4 separate regions of the Homo sapiens genome follow, and regions 1, 2 and 3 are each linked to region 4. Evidence: promoter capture Hi-C in 16 types of primary human blood cells and fetal thymus (Javierre and others, 2016). All regions are on one chromosome and are shown on one strand. Each heading gives the region's core, a stretch centred on a gene start or on the middle of the fragment in contact. The rest is flanking DNA. Distances are from core to core; before and after follow the strand shown.

What was found. Contacts are between HindIII fragments. The CHiCAGO score rates a contact against its expected background, and 5 or more counts as called.
Region 1: the fragment with the promoter of TXNDC15 here is called in contact with a fragment that was not itself captured in region 4 in 3 of 17 cell types (non-activated CD4 T cells, naive CD8 T cells and fetal thymus); the score reaches 6.9 in non-activated CD4 T cells.
Region 2: a contact is called between the fragment with the promoter of JADE2 here and a fragment that was not itself captured in region 4, in 1 of 17 cell types (monocytes). The highest score is 5.5, in monocytes.
Region 3: the fragment with the promoter of DDX46 here is called in contact with a fragment that was not itself captured in region 4 in 5 of 17 cell types (total CD8 T cells, fetal thymus, naive CD4 T cells and 2 more); the score reaches 8.7 in total CD8 T cells.

The regions. Positions count from the first base shown.
Region 1 is chr5:134,873,020-134,875,719 of GRCh38, reverse strand. TXNDC15 (thioredoxin domain containing 15) reads right to left here and starts at 1,349. Exons shown (of 5, transcript NM_024715.4): 1 at 1,190-1,349. The coding sequence starts at 1,292. It overlaps LOC124901071 (a long non-coding RNA gene), which reads left to right and starts at 322. Exons shown (of 2, transcript XR_007058943.1): 1 at 322-476; 2 at 588-889. RefSeq lists enhancers at 714-783, 677-1,382, 1,314-1,603, 1,624-1,673 and a silencer at 964-1,073. The HindIII fragment of the contact is 3,704 bases long and covers 1-2,229 here.
Region 2 is chr5:134,524,378-134,527,077 of GRCh38, reverse strand. JADE2 (jade family PHD finger 2) reads right to left here and starts at 1,408. Exons shown (of 12, transcript NM_001388185.1): 1 at 1,067-1,408. LOC124901070 (a long non-coding RNA gene) reads left to right here and starts at 1,476. Exons shown (of 3, transcript XR_007058942.1): 1 at 1,476-1,612; 2 at 1,995-2,172. RefSeq lists silencers at 1-938, 949-1,208, 1,239-1,318, 1,449-1,668, 1,689-1,738 and 1 more. The HindIII fragment of the contact is 6,085 bases long and covers 1-2,700 here.
Region 3 is chr5:134,757,373-134,760,072 of GRCh38, reverse strand. It overlaps DDX46 (DEAD-box helicase 46), which reads right to left and starts at 1,294. Exons shown (of 23, transcript NM_001300860.2): 1 at 1,118-1,294. The coding sequence starts at 1,134. RefSeq lists an enhancer at 1,030-1,519. The HindIII fragment of the contact is 1,728 bases long and covers 302-2,029 here.
Region 4 is chr5:132,960,128-132,962,827 of GRCh38, reverse strand. All of the region lies in intron 1 of AFF4 (ALF transcription elongation factor 4), which reads left to right. Among named protein-coding and RNA genes, the nearest start is that of AFF4, 2.2 kb to the left of the region's middle. RefSeq lists an enhancer at 1,666-2,167. The HindIII fragment of the contact is 1,630 bases long and covers 610-2,239 here.

The DNA.
Region 1 (2,700 bases), core at 100-2,599, 1.9 Mb before region 4:
CCAGCCTGGGCAACAGAGCGAGACTCCATCTCAAAAAAAAATAAAAATAAAAATTACATAAACCGGGAGCAGTGGCTCACATCTGTAATCCCAGCACTTTGGGAAACAGGTGGGAGGATCACTTAAGCCCAGGAGTTCAAGGCTGCAGGGAGCCATGATGGGCCACTGCACTCCCGCCTGGGCAACAGAGCAAGCCCTCATCCCTTAAAAAAACAAAAACAAAACAGTAAAGATTCCAAAAGATGATGCTCGTAAAGCACTGAGCACAGCATCTGGTACACAGTGAGCGCTTTCATTCATGGTAATTGTGTTACTATGACTCACCCTTCTCCACAACTCTCTGCTGTCCTGCCTCCATCCAGGACACCCCAGGGAAAAGAAAGACCTGCCTATTCCTGTTAAGGTCTAAATGACAAGCGAGACCGAGGGTCTGGACTTTAACAGGACTATGAGGAGTGGGGTGAAGGAGCATGAAAGTAAGGCCTCCACTCTCCACCCTCGCCATGCCTCTAGAGTGGCTGCCTTCCCTACCGGCAAGTTGGGGGTTACCGGGAGTCTCCCGTGTTTCTCGTCTGTTTTTCATGCAGGGAGCTGAGCAAGACTGGCCTCCTTAAGACAGTGGTCCAGCAGCGTGGACTCCAGACTGGGCTTTGGCGTCAGAGAGACAGGCTTCTGCCACGTATCAGAAGCGCAAACTTAGGCGGGGCCTGAGCATCTTCATCTGTGAAATGGAGACACTAAACGGAACCGATCTGACAGGGTTTGTGGGAGCATTAAATGGGATAATGATGTAAATAAAGCACGATGCACAGTTCCTGGCTCCTAATACGGCCACAACAATGTCGGTATTTGATATAATGTTATTAATAATAAATTGCTTATCACCAGAGGGTATGCCTCAGCAGCGCTTACCGCACTGTCCCTCCTGGCTACCAGCCACGGGCTGAGGGCGGCCTGAACGCGGCCCAACCACCCCCGGGCTCCCGTCCACCGGCCCTCAGCCCACCGGCCCCCTTTCGCGGGCCACCAGCGGGCGGTGCGCGGGGAGAGAAGTCGGGGAGACGCGCCCGGGGAGACGCCAAGAAGGGGCGAGTCGCGCACCGCCGGCCTTCGCGCAGGTCCAGAGCGTCGCCCGGGTGGACCTCAGCTCGCCCCATCATCTCATGCACCGCCCCCGGCCCACACTCACCCTCCACGCCGCGGACGGGAAGTCCCAGCACCCACAGCAATACTTGCCACCAGCCGAGGAGCCGCATGACGCGGGGCGGTCGTCGACCGGCAGCCGGGACCATTGCCCAGGCCGAGAGGCAATCGGCGCACGGCTACGCGAGTCGTGCTGCCAGCCGGAGGAAGGCTGGGGGAGGAGAGCCTGGGAGCGCGGGCGCGGCCCCGCGCCGCCATCTTAACACCTGGCAGCTGTGGCGGGCGCCATCTTGGAGTCGGGCGGACGGCCTCTAGCCGCTGGCCGTCGGCGCTGGACTGGAGACCTCTTTAGGAGCTAAGCGCCAGACGTTGCAGGTCGTTTTGAACTCTGCTGACCCCAGAGTGCAGAGCATGGCTCTGGCAGAGGCCCATGGCCTCCTTTCTTCCCTCGGAAGTCAGAGCTTGGCTACTTGAAGCACTGCGCCCGCCTAAGGAGGGTTTTCCACGCTTCATTCCCAGAGCCAGAAAGGCCCAGGAGCCTTCCTGTTCTAGTGTCCCATCGAGGTGCAGAAACTTTGGAGGCTGCAAATCTTCTAATCGCTTGCCTAACCTGTGCTCCCCTACCTAGGGTTGCCACATAGAATACCTGATACCCAGTTATATTTGAATTTCACATAATGAATATTTTTTACTATAACCCTTATAGTATAAGGGATATACCTTAAAACTGAGCATCCTGTAACTTCGTGACATCTGGCAACCCTAACCCTACCTATCCACTCAGGGCAGGAGAGGTTGGTTTTAACTGATTTACCTTGCAGGGCAATCTCTTTTTAATCATGGTTGGGGCCGTGAGCATCATTGGCTCTGGCTCATGGTGGAGGTGGAGCCACCTCGAGCATAAAGTAGATAGGAAAGGGCTTAGAATGAAGAAAGCATAGATGGGGAGATGAGGAACAGGGCTCTGCATTCCCAAGCAAACGCACAGAGCGGGAGTCTTAAGAGAAAATTCTTGGAATAGAGAGGATGACACCACTAATTGGGGTATTTTGCCGGGGGGCCTGCTAAAATGGAATAAGGCAAGCTTTAAGCAGCCACCAGTCAGTGCTAAATCAGTGCAGAGTGCAGCTTTTCAAACTTATGAGGTTGAAAAAATAGAAACTGATTTAAAATACATCAGTCTATTGGTTAACATAGCAATGGTAAGGGGAACCTGTGCTTTTTGGCCGCTTGGTGAATCCCAACTTCAGCACATGTGATAGTTCACAGTCAGCAGGTTATGTAACTTAAAGTTAAGTTTCTTCAGCTGTAAAGTGGAAATGACGTTATATAGAGTCTTATAGATGAAATGAGATGTAAAGTGATGAGCACAGTGTCCTGGGGCACAGGAAGCATTTCAAAGTGGTAGGCATTATTAATTGAATAATACAATTCTGATGGTGTGGCCATAGTCCCCTTATCTCTATGCCCATCAAAAAGACACTGTTAGGCCAGAAAGATGCATCATTAATCTGTCCCTGTGGATGATTCTTTTATTCTAAATACGTTGGTATGGTT
Region 2 (2,700 bases), core at 159-2,658, 1.6 Mb before region 4:
GCGTCCCAAACGGGGTCCGCCACAAGCCGGCATCTTCCTGGTACCACCCATGGTGCAGGGCCCTAGGCAGAGGGCTGGGGACTGCGGATCCGTCCCTGAAGCGGGACGCGAACCGGCAGAGTTGGGAGAAGGTAAACAAGGGCCACGCCCCCTGCCGTCGCCCCGCGGGCGCGCACCCGCCGCTCCGGCCGCCGCCGGTACATTTCCACTCTCCCAGCGCCTCTCCCCAGCTGGACTACCGCGCGGCCCCGGAGGTGGAGGCTGCCCCCGACCCCAGTCCTCACCCCTGGCGCCGAGGCTCCGCACCCTCCACACTCACCTGGAAAGGGTGTCCCCCGCCCCTCCAAAAAAACTGTCTAATTTGTGCAGAGCCTCCAACCCCAGGAGCCGAGCATGCTGCCCCCGCGTGCAGCGCCCGCGTGCACCGGGCCGGGAGAGGGGGCGACAGGGCGGAGGCGGTGGCCCCCGGAAGGTGTCTGGGACCGGACCGGCTGCACGTGAGCCCAGCGCGAGGTCATGTGCACCGGCTCAGCCCGGTTCGGCGCCCGGACGTGCTGCGTATCAACAAAATGAAACTCGGGGAGACAGGAGGGCAGATAGCTCCAGGTTCTCGGAGCCCCCGCCCGGGCCGCTCGACCTCCCCACCGTACCCATCTCCCGCCGCAGCCCCTACGCCCGGCCGGAGCCCGCGGGGAAGTTGCAGCCCTGGCGCGCCCCCGCCCGCCCGCGCCCCCTCGCCGGCCCGGGGGCGCTTTGCCGCAGTCATTAATAAAGAAGGTCGCCAAGCTCACCCTTCCAAAAGTTGTTGTTGCATGCGCCCCTCTCAGCCTCCCCGCACTGTACTCTTTAAAACACGACTGACCAACATGCGCAATCTCTCTCCCCTGTGCTGTGCATCCCCCCCCTCTCCGCGCTGGCTTCCTAGAACAGGCAGCCAGCAGGAGAGAGAGGGAGCGAGCGAGCAAGAGAGAGCGAGGGAGCGAAGAGCGCTGGCAGATCTGTTGCAAAAACGCCAAATAACGTCGTGGAGATGCGCAGGGCCCATCCGCCGGGGGCTGGATCTTACCTTGCTCCGCGGTGCCCCCCTGACGGGCGCTGCCCTCGGCTACGCGCCGCTGCAGGGACCGGCGCGGGAAGGATGCTCCCGAAGCCGGGAGCTCCTGGGGCCGGCGCGGGAGGGCGGGGGGCGCGCATCCATCCGGGGTCGCGGCGAGGGAGGCGGCCGGGCCCGCGGCGTCCCAGGCCCCACGCCCCCCGCCGGGGACGGTCGGCCCGCAGGACCTAAGCCGGTGCCGCTAGGAGTGGGCGCAAAGTAACTCCATGGACGCTACTCACCCCCCCCAAAAAATAGCCTCCAACTGCGATGGCCGCGGTCGGCACCATTCACCAACCCCCTGTGTATGTTTCTGTTTCTTTTTAAACCAAGACTTCCTTGTGATCTCTTTAGAAAAAAAAAATGTGTTGGGGTGGGGGTGGGGTGGGGGCGGGCAGGAGGAGCGAGGGAGGGGGAGTAGCCACTTTTTTCTTATTCACTCGGATCTCCGCTCCCGACACCCCCGTCGCCGCCCCCCCAACCCCCCGCCCAGTTGTTTGGCTCCGGCGGGGAGTCCAGGTAGCGTTGCGGGCCCCGTGGGGGAAGGGTGCCCTCCCTCGCAGCCCCACCACCACGCCTGCTGGCACCCTGGGCCCGGACTCCCCATGGACTCTGGGGCGCCCCTAGCCCGCCCTGTCCCCAGGGCCGGGCCCGAGCGGCGGCTGCGCCCGTGCAAGTCCCATCAGGTCTGCTCACACTTCACACACTCACACACATACCCCGCCCCTCCACTCTTTCACTCACACTTTCTGCTCACACCCCGCCCCCTACGCGCCCCAGACCCGGGCGGCGCCCCCCGCAACCTTAAAAAAAAAAAAAAGCGAGCTTATACTTAAAAAAATCTTTTGGCGCCATATTAATGACGTACTTAAAATTTGCCATTTCTCCCTGCGTCAAAAAGACGTTTCTTTGCAAATAACAGCCTGGAGGCGACACTCGCGGAGGGAACGAGGTTTGCACTGAGCACCCCGCCCCCCGGGGCTCCAGCGCTGGAAGACCCTCGCCCTAGGCCCTGCTTCTGAATCGCTGGTTTTAAAATGCGAATCGAATAAATTGCGTGGCGTTTTGCAGCACCAGAAGTGAGCAGAAAGTGCTGGCAGGAGGGGAGTGGAGGGGCGAACGCGAGTCTTGGGGAGGGGGCGCGGCCCTCCTCCCCGCACCCACTCCAAATGGAAAACTAACATTCCGGGCGGGGGAACTTGAAATTGTAGGCGACCTCAAGAAAAGAGGGGCGGTCCGTAGAGAGGGTCCCCATTGGGCTCGTCGCCCCCTCCCCCCTCCCGGGTGCCTCCTGGCGCCTAGCGCTGCCCCGCATTTCCGGGGGGTGGAGAAGGCAGTGATGAGCGGGTGGGTGGGTGGTTGCACATCCTGGCCCCAGCAGGATTTTGCCCCGGGGCGACCCCTTCCTCCTTGCTCTTCCTTCCCATTACCCCGAAAGGGTTAAAAACCGAGGGGTAACTTCCAAAGGCTGGCACATGGCGAGGAAGCGGGGCGCCCCTCTCCCCACCCTTCGCCTCCTCGCCCCTCCTCCTCCGGCTCCACTTCCCGACTTGACCTTGTGGTGCACAAACAGTACGCTCGGATCCTCGCAGTTTCTGGAAGAAGAG
Region 3 (2,700 bases), core at 45-2,544, 1.8 Mb before region 4:
GGAAGACAATCAATTCAGAGAATCAATTTAAAACAGATGTAGTAGTCTGGACAATAAATAATTAGGGCCTCAATTAAGTCAGGGACAACCAGAATGGGCAAAGGATGTAGAATCTAACAGGCTGTGGGTAGTGAGAGAGAAGAATGAGTCAAATAAATATCACTTTCAGATTTCTGGTCTGGACAGCCTTCCGGAGATTTAAAACACCGTCACAGGAATTTTCTGTAGTTAAAGAAATATTTTTTATCTTCATCCAGGTGATGATTACACGGTTTATATATTTGCTAAATTTCATCAAGCTTTACCCTTACGTTTTGTCCATTTCCCTGATTGTTAATTGTACCTCAACAAAGAACTGTTAGCACTAACAACAAAAGCCTTCATTGTTCCTAGACATAAAATATCTTTCAGTCATTGCTAAATACATAGCAAATAGTCATTTTTAACATAAAAATCTCAAGGTTCCTAACAATCTATCAACAATCTAAAGTTGTGATGAGATCTAATGAGTTCTAATAAGAGCTCATAGTCCACAACTTCAAAAGGACAGAAAAGCAGGTAACAAAGTTACCTGCTTAAATACGAAATCTATTTGCGAAGTAAATGCCCACGCAACAAGTATTTATTGTAGCCCAGTAAAAGCCTAGTCGTGTATAGTGCTGTCGATGCGGTAAAAATGTCTGCCCACACGCTCCTTTCAAGTAACTTGGGAAAAGATCATACGCGCACAAAGAACTAAAATACAGAATGACAGGAGTCGAGGAAATGTTGGAAACGCGAAGCAATAAGCAATCCAACTGGGATCACTTCTGACTGAAGTAATCAGGGCAGGCTCCCTTGAAGTGGCGGGATGTGGTGCCCAATCACTAACGTCCTGGAGGGTTGTTCCCGCTCCAGGGGCTCGAACCCTCTGATGGTAGTGCAGGGGAAGCCGTCGCTGGCCCAAACACAACCATTCCCTCAGCCGAGGTCCCCCAGCCCTTCCAATGCTCGCGGGGCAGCGCTGACCGCACGTGGGGCCGCGCCAGGCCTGGCCCGGCGGCCACCTCAACTCCCGCCTCTTCTCACGACCCCAAGAAGCCGCTCGCCCGCTAGCCCGCTCGGCGCTCTGCCTCACCGTGACTCCCGACCCATGCTGCCGACCGCGGGAATACTGGTGCCCTTGAGTACCACGCACAGGCGAACCGGACAAACAAGGAGGCTGAGCTGCCCTCAACGCCCGGCAAAGACCAGCGCTAAACACTAGCAGCACCTACAGCTGTGGCGGCCATCCCAGCGCGGCCAACGAAAACAGGACGTGCTGGCGCCGGCAGCCGAAGGAAGAGAAAAGCCGACCGGAAGCTGCCGCTCTTCCACAGCGCCCCACCTCGACTGGAGGACGCACAGCGCCGGCCCCATCGAAAGGTGATGCCTTCGCCCCGCCCAGTCTTCCCGGCGCCCGCACCACGCCCGGCTGATTAGTGCGATGGAGCGCAGCGCGTCAGCCTCGCCGGCCCGTGAGGGTGTTTCGCGCCAGAGCCAAAGAGGCGTCCTGGGCAGGCTGATGTCTGCCTTAATTTGCGCTAAATAATGCGGCAACTTTCTCCGTACACGCTCTTTATTCATGTATACATTCACTCATTTATTTATGTTGTCATATGCCAGGCTTGTGCTAGATCCTGGGGAGCTCACAGTCTATCCGGGAAACAGATGACTAAAGCCAGCACAGTGGCTCACGCCTGAAATCCCAGCACTTTGGGAGGCTGAGGCGGGAGGATCTATTGAGCCCAGGAATTCAAGACCTGGGCAACGTAGCCCTCGTCTCTGCAAAGAAAATAGTAATAATAATAGACTTGACTAAAAACACAAGCAGAAGTAATACAGCAAGGAGAGTCCACCATTGGAGACGGATTCAGAAAACACGTTTCCCTTGGAAGTGAACTCTGAGGTGAGATTTGAAGACCCGGTAGGTGTTAACCTAGTAGAGAACAAAGAGCTAAAAATACTTTGGCAAAAGATTAGTTCTCAACATTGCTTGCACTGGGAAGCTTAAAAATAAAACAAAAAAACAAAAAAAGGGCCAGCCATGGTGGCTCATGCCTATAATCCCAGCACTTTGGGAGGCCGAGGCAGGAGGATGGCTTGAGCCCAGGAATTCAAGACCTACCTGGGCAACATAGCGAGACCCTCTACAAAAAATAAGCAAAATAATTAGCCAGGTGTGCTGGCACGCCTGTGGTTCTAGCTACTTGGGAGGCTGAGGTGAGAGGATCATTTGAGCCAGGGAGGCTGAGGCAAGAAGATTACTTGAGCCCAGGAGTTTGAGGCTGCAGTGAGCTATGATGACTCCAGCCTGGGTAGCACAGAGAAATCTCATCTCTAAAATATTAGTAAATAAAATAGAAGCCTGGGTTCCACCCCTATGTTCTGATTTAATTGGCCTGGAGTGCTTCTTGTGCACTGGGAATTTTTAAGCTTCCCAGGTAATTCTGAAGTACAGTCAAGATTGAGAACATTATTCGAGAGTTTGGGCACCAAAAAAATGTATATGTATTGTCTCATGCAACACACACAGAAATGTTGAATTTTTTTTGTTTTTTTTTTTTGAGACGGAGTTTCGCTTTTGTTGCCCAGGCTGGAGTGCAATGGTGAGAGCTCAGCTCACCACAACCTCCACCTCCTGGGTTCAAGCGATTCTCCTGCCTCAGCCTCCCAAGTAGC
Region 4 (2,700 bases), core at 175-2,674:
CCCCCGCAAAAAAAAAAAAAAAAGAAGGAAAAATTTCCGCCTTCGACTTGCGAAGGGGATTGACTAAAAATGGGAACGTGGGGGTATAATACTCGAATACCCTCCCCTACAACTTCTGAATCGGTCTGTTACCTAGTTATCCCAGTAGCTTGTGCGTGGATATTGATGTTTAGGCCTTTCCTCCAGCTGCCTGTGCTTGGGGTTAATCTCGTAATTGACGTCAGTGCTTTGTTCCTTCTACTTTGCTGTTCCTTCCACTCTTTGAGGATGGATCATGGAGTACAGGAGTTTTGGGAGTAACCTTATTGCCTTTTCGTTTACAAACAGTATTATTTTCAGGAAGTGGAAGTACGAATCTGAAATGTTTGTATATGGAGTTCAAGGCGAAGAGTTCGATTTAGGGTTCTCGTAGTTTTGTCAGTTGTAATTCAGAATTATGCGGTTTCTTCCCTGCTGGCCACATGGAAATTTTATACTAAGGCCAGTCACTTTTCCATTGACCAGTGTTTTTCTTGATGGAATCTAAGCTATAGGTGTCTGTGAATAGACTGTAAATGTAACATAAAATGTGTGCTGTTTTTCGGGCTCAGATATGAAAAGCGCAAAGCTTCGTTTCTGTATTGATTCTGCACTTCATAAAGTGCTTTTTAAAACTTAACTGGTCTTTAACTTATCAAAATTGAAATATTTATGAGAACTTTCTTAATTTGGGATTTGATAAAGAGCCTTTGTGGTCTGTGAGTCTGCCTAGAATCATCTTTGGTCATACGTGCATAAAGAAGTGTTGGCAAGTGGCCACTTGGTTTTCAACAAAGCTGGCTTCTTTAAATTTCTCAGATTCGTTTTCCTTATTATCACTGCATCTTTCAGCTCCTAAATATAAGAAAAATTCCCAGTAAGTTATTTTAAGTTATCTTTCAGAGTTAACTTACTAAAAACCTGGAAGCAGTCAAATTTTTCTTTTTTTATTACCAGCAGTTTCATTCAATTTGCGGTGGTTTGCAGGCTGGTACTTTGATTTTTGTTAACTCTCTAGAAACAGTAGGCAAATTTTACTTTAAATAAAATTTTGCTTCAAGTGGGGACAAGATGGGGTGTCTGAAAAAAGAGCCCAGCTGTGTTAATTGGAACATGATCTACAGTTTGGGAGTGTAAGGTGAAGCTGTGTAATTAAGAATTCTTAAAGATTGAATATTTTTGTTCTGAGTCACTTTCTACTTGTCAGATTCTCACATTCAGGTTGATACATTCTCTTCTGTGTACTCTTGAGTTATTGTACCCTTTTTGTAGCAATATATTCTGCAGCCGGGCCTGGTGGTTCACGCCTGTAATCCTAGCACTTTAGCACTTTGAGAGGCCGAGGTGGGCGGATCACCTGAGGTCAGGAGTTCTAGACCATCCTGGCCAACATAATGAAACCCCGTCTCTACTAAAAATACAAGAATTAGCCAGGTGTGGTGGTGCACACCTGTAGTTCTAGCTACTTGAGAGGCTGAGGCATGAGAACCAAATTAGCCAGACATGGTGGTACATGCCTGTAGTCCCAGCTACTCCAGAGGCTGAGGCACGAGAATCGCTTGAGAATCGCTTGAACTGGGAGGCGAAGGTTGCAGTAAGCCGAGATCACACCACTGGAATGCAGTGGCTCCATCTCTGCTCACTGCAACCTCTGCCTCCTGGGTTCAAGCGATTCTCCTGCCTCAGCCTCCTGAGTAGTTGGGATTGCAGGTACACACTACCATTCCCAGTTAATGTTTTTTGTATTTTTAGTAGAGACGGGGTTTCAGCAGGTTGGTCAGACTGGTCTCGAACTCCTGACCTCGTGATCCACACGCCTCGGCCTCCCCAAAGTGTTGGGATTACAGGCATGAGCACTGCGCCCGGCCAACCTAGGCGATGTCTCAAACAAGCAGAAGCCTACTATATGTTTTGCACTGTAATTTTCTTTTTTTCCCTGTCTCTTGCAGATATTGAGGGATGCATAATAATTTTCTTACAGATCTGTTACAGGGTCTTTGAGGAAGTACTATATTTATTCCTCTTTTTATCTTCCTCAGTATTTTACACAATTACTAGATTGAATTTGAATGTGATAATATTTTGAACTTGAAATTGTTGTTCTATCAACTTATCTAAGATTTCACAAAAAGGTAATGTAAAGAAAGCTGTATGAGCAAAGGATCAGTATTTGAAAGGGAAAAACCTGTCAGTTTCAGAAGATGAGACAGAAGATGAAGCTTTCTAAAAGTTATATATTTTGCCTTTTTTGAGAAGGTAAGGTAAATGCCGTAGTTTTATGTGTACCTGAGAGGAACAAATAAAACAGGTATTTCTTCCTTTGTGGCCATCCACTGGTTTAGAATGGAGTTCAAAATCTATGAGGACTTTTCTTTGTGGTATTTTTAATAAAATCAAAGAGGTATTCTTAAGTATTGAGAGCACACCTGGACAATGACCCAGAAGTACAGCATGTACTATAAAAAATTGATGACTTAGATTTTTTTTTACTTTAGCTTTATTCTACAGATATCTCACTATGAAGACTTTTCTATATGATATAAAGGTTCCCAGCTCTCCTGCATCCTTATTATGTTTTACCCATTCCCTTATTCATTTCCTCTGATAAGTTGGAACAATTCTATTTGATTTCTGGGAGGGTGTTAGCTAGTCTCAGTTATTGTGAAAGAAGGTGTAGTGACT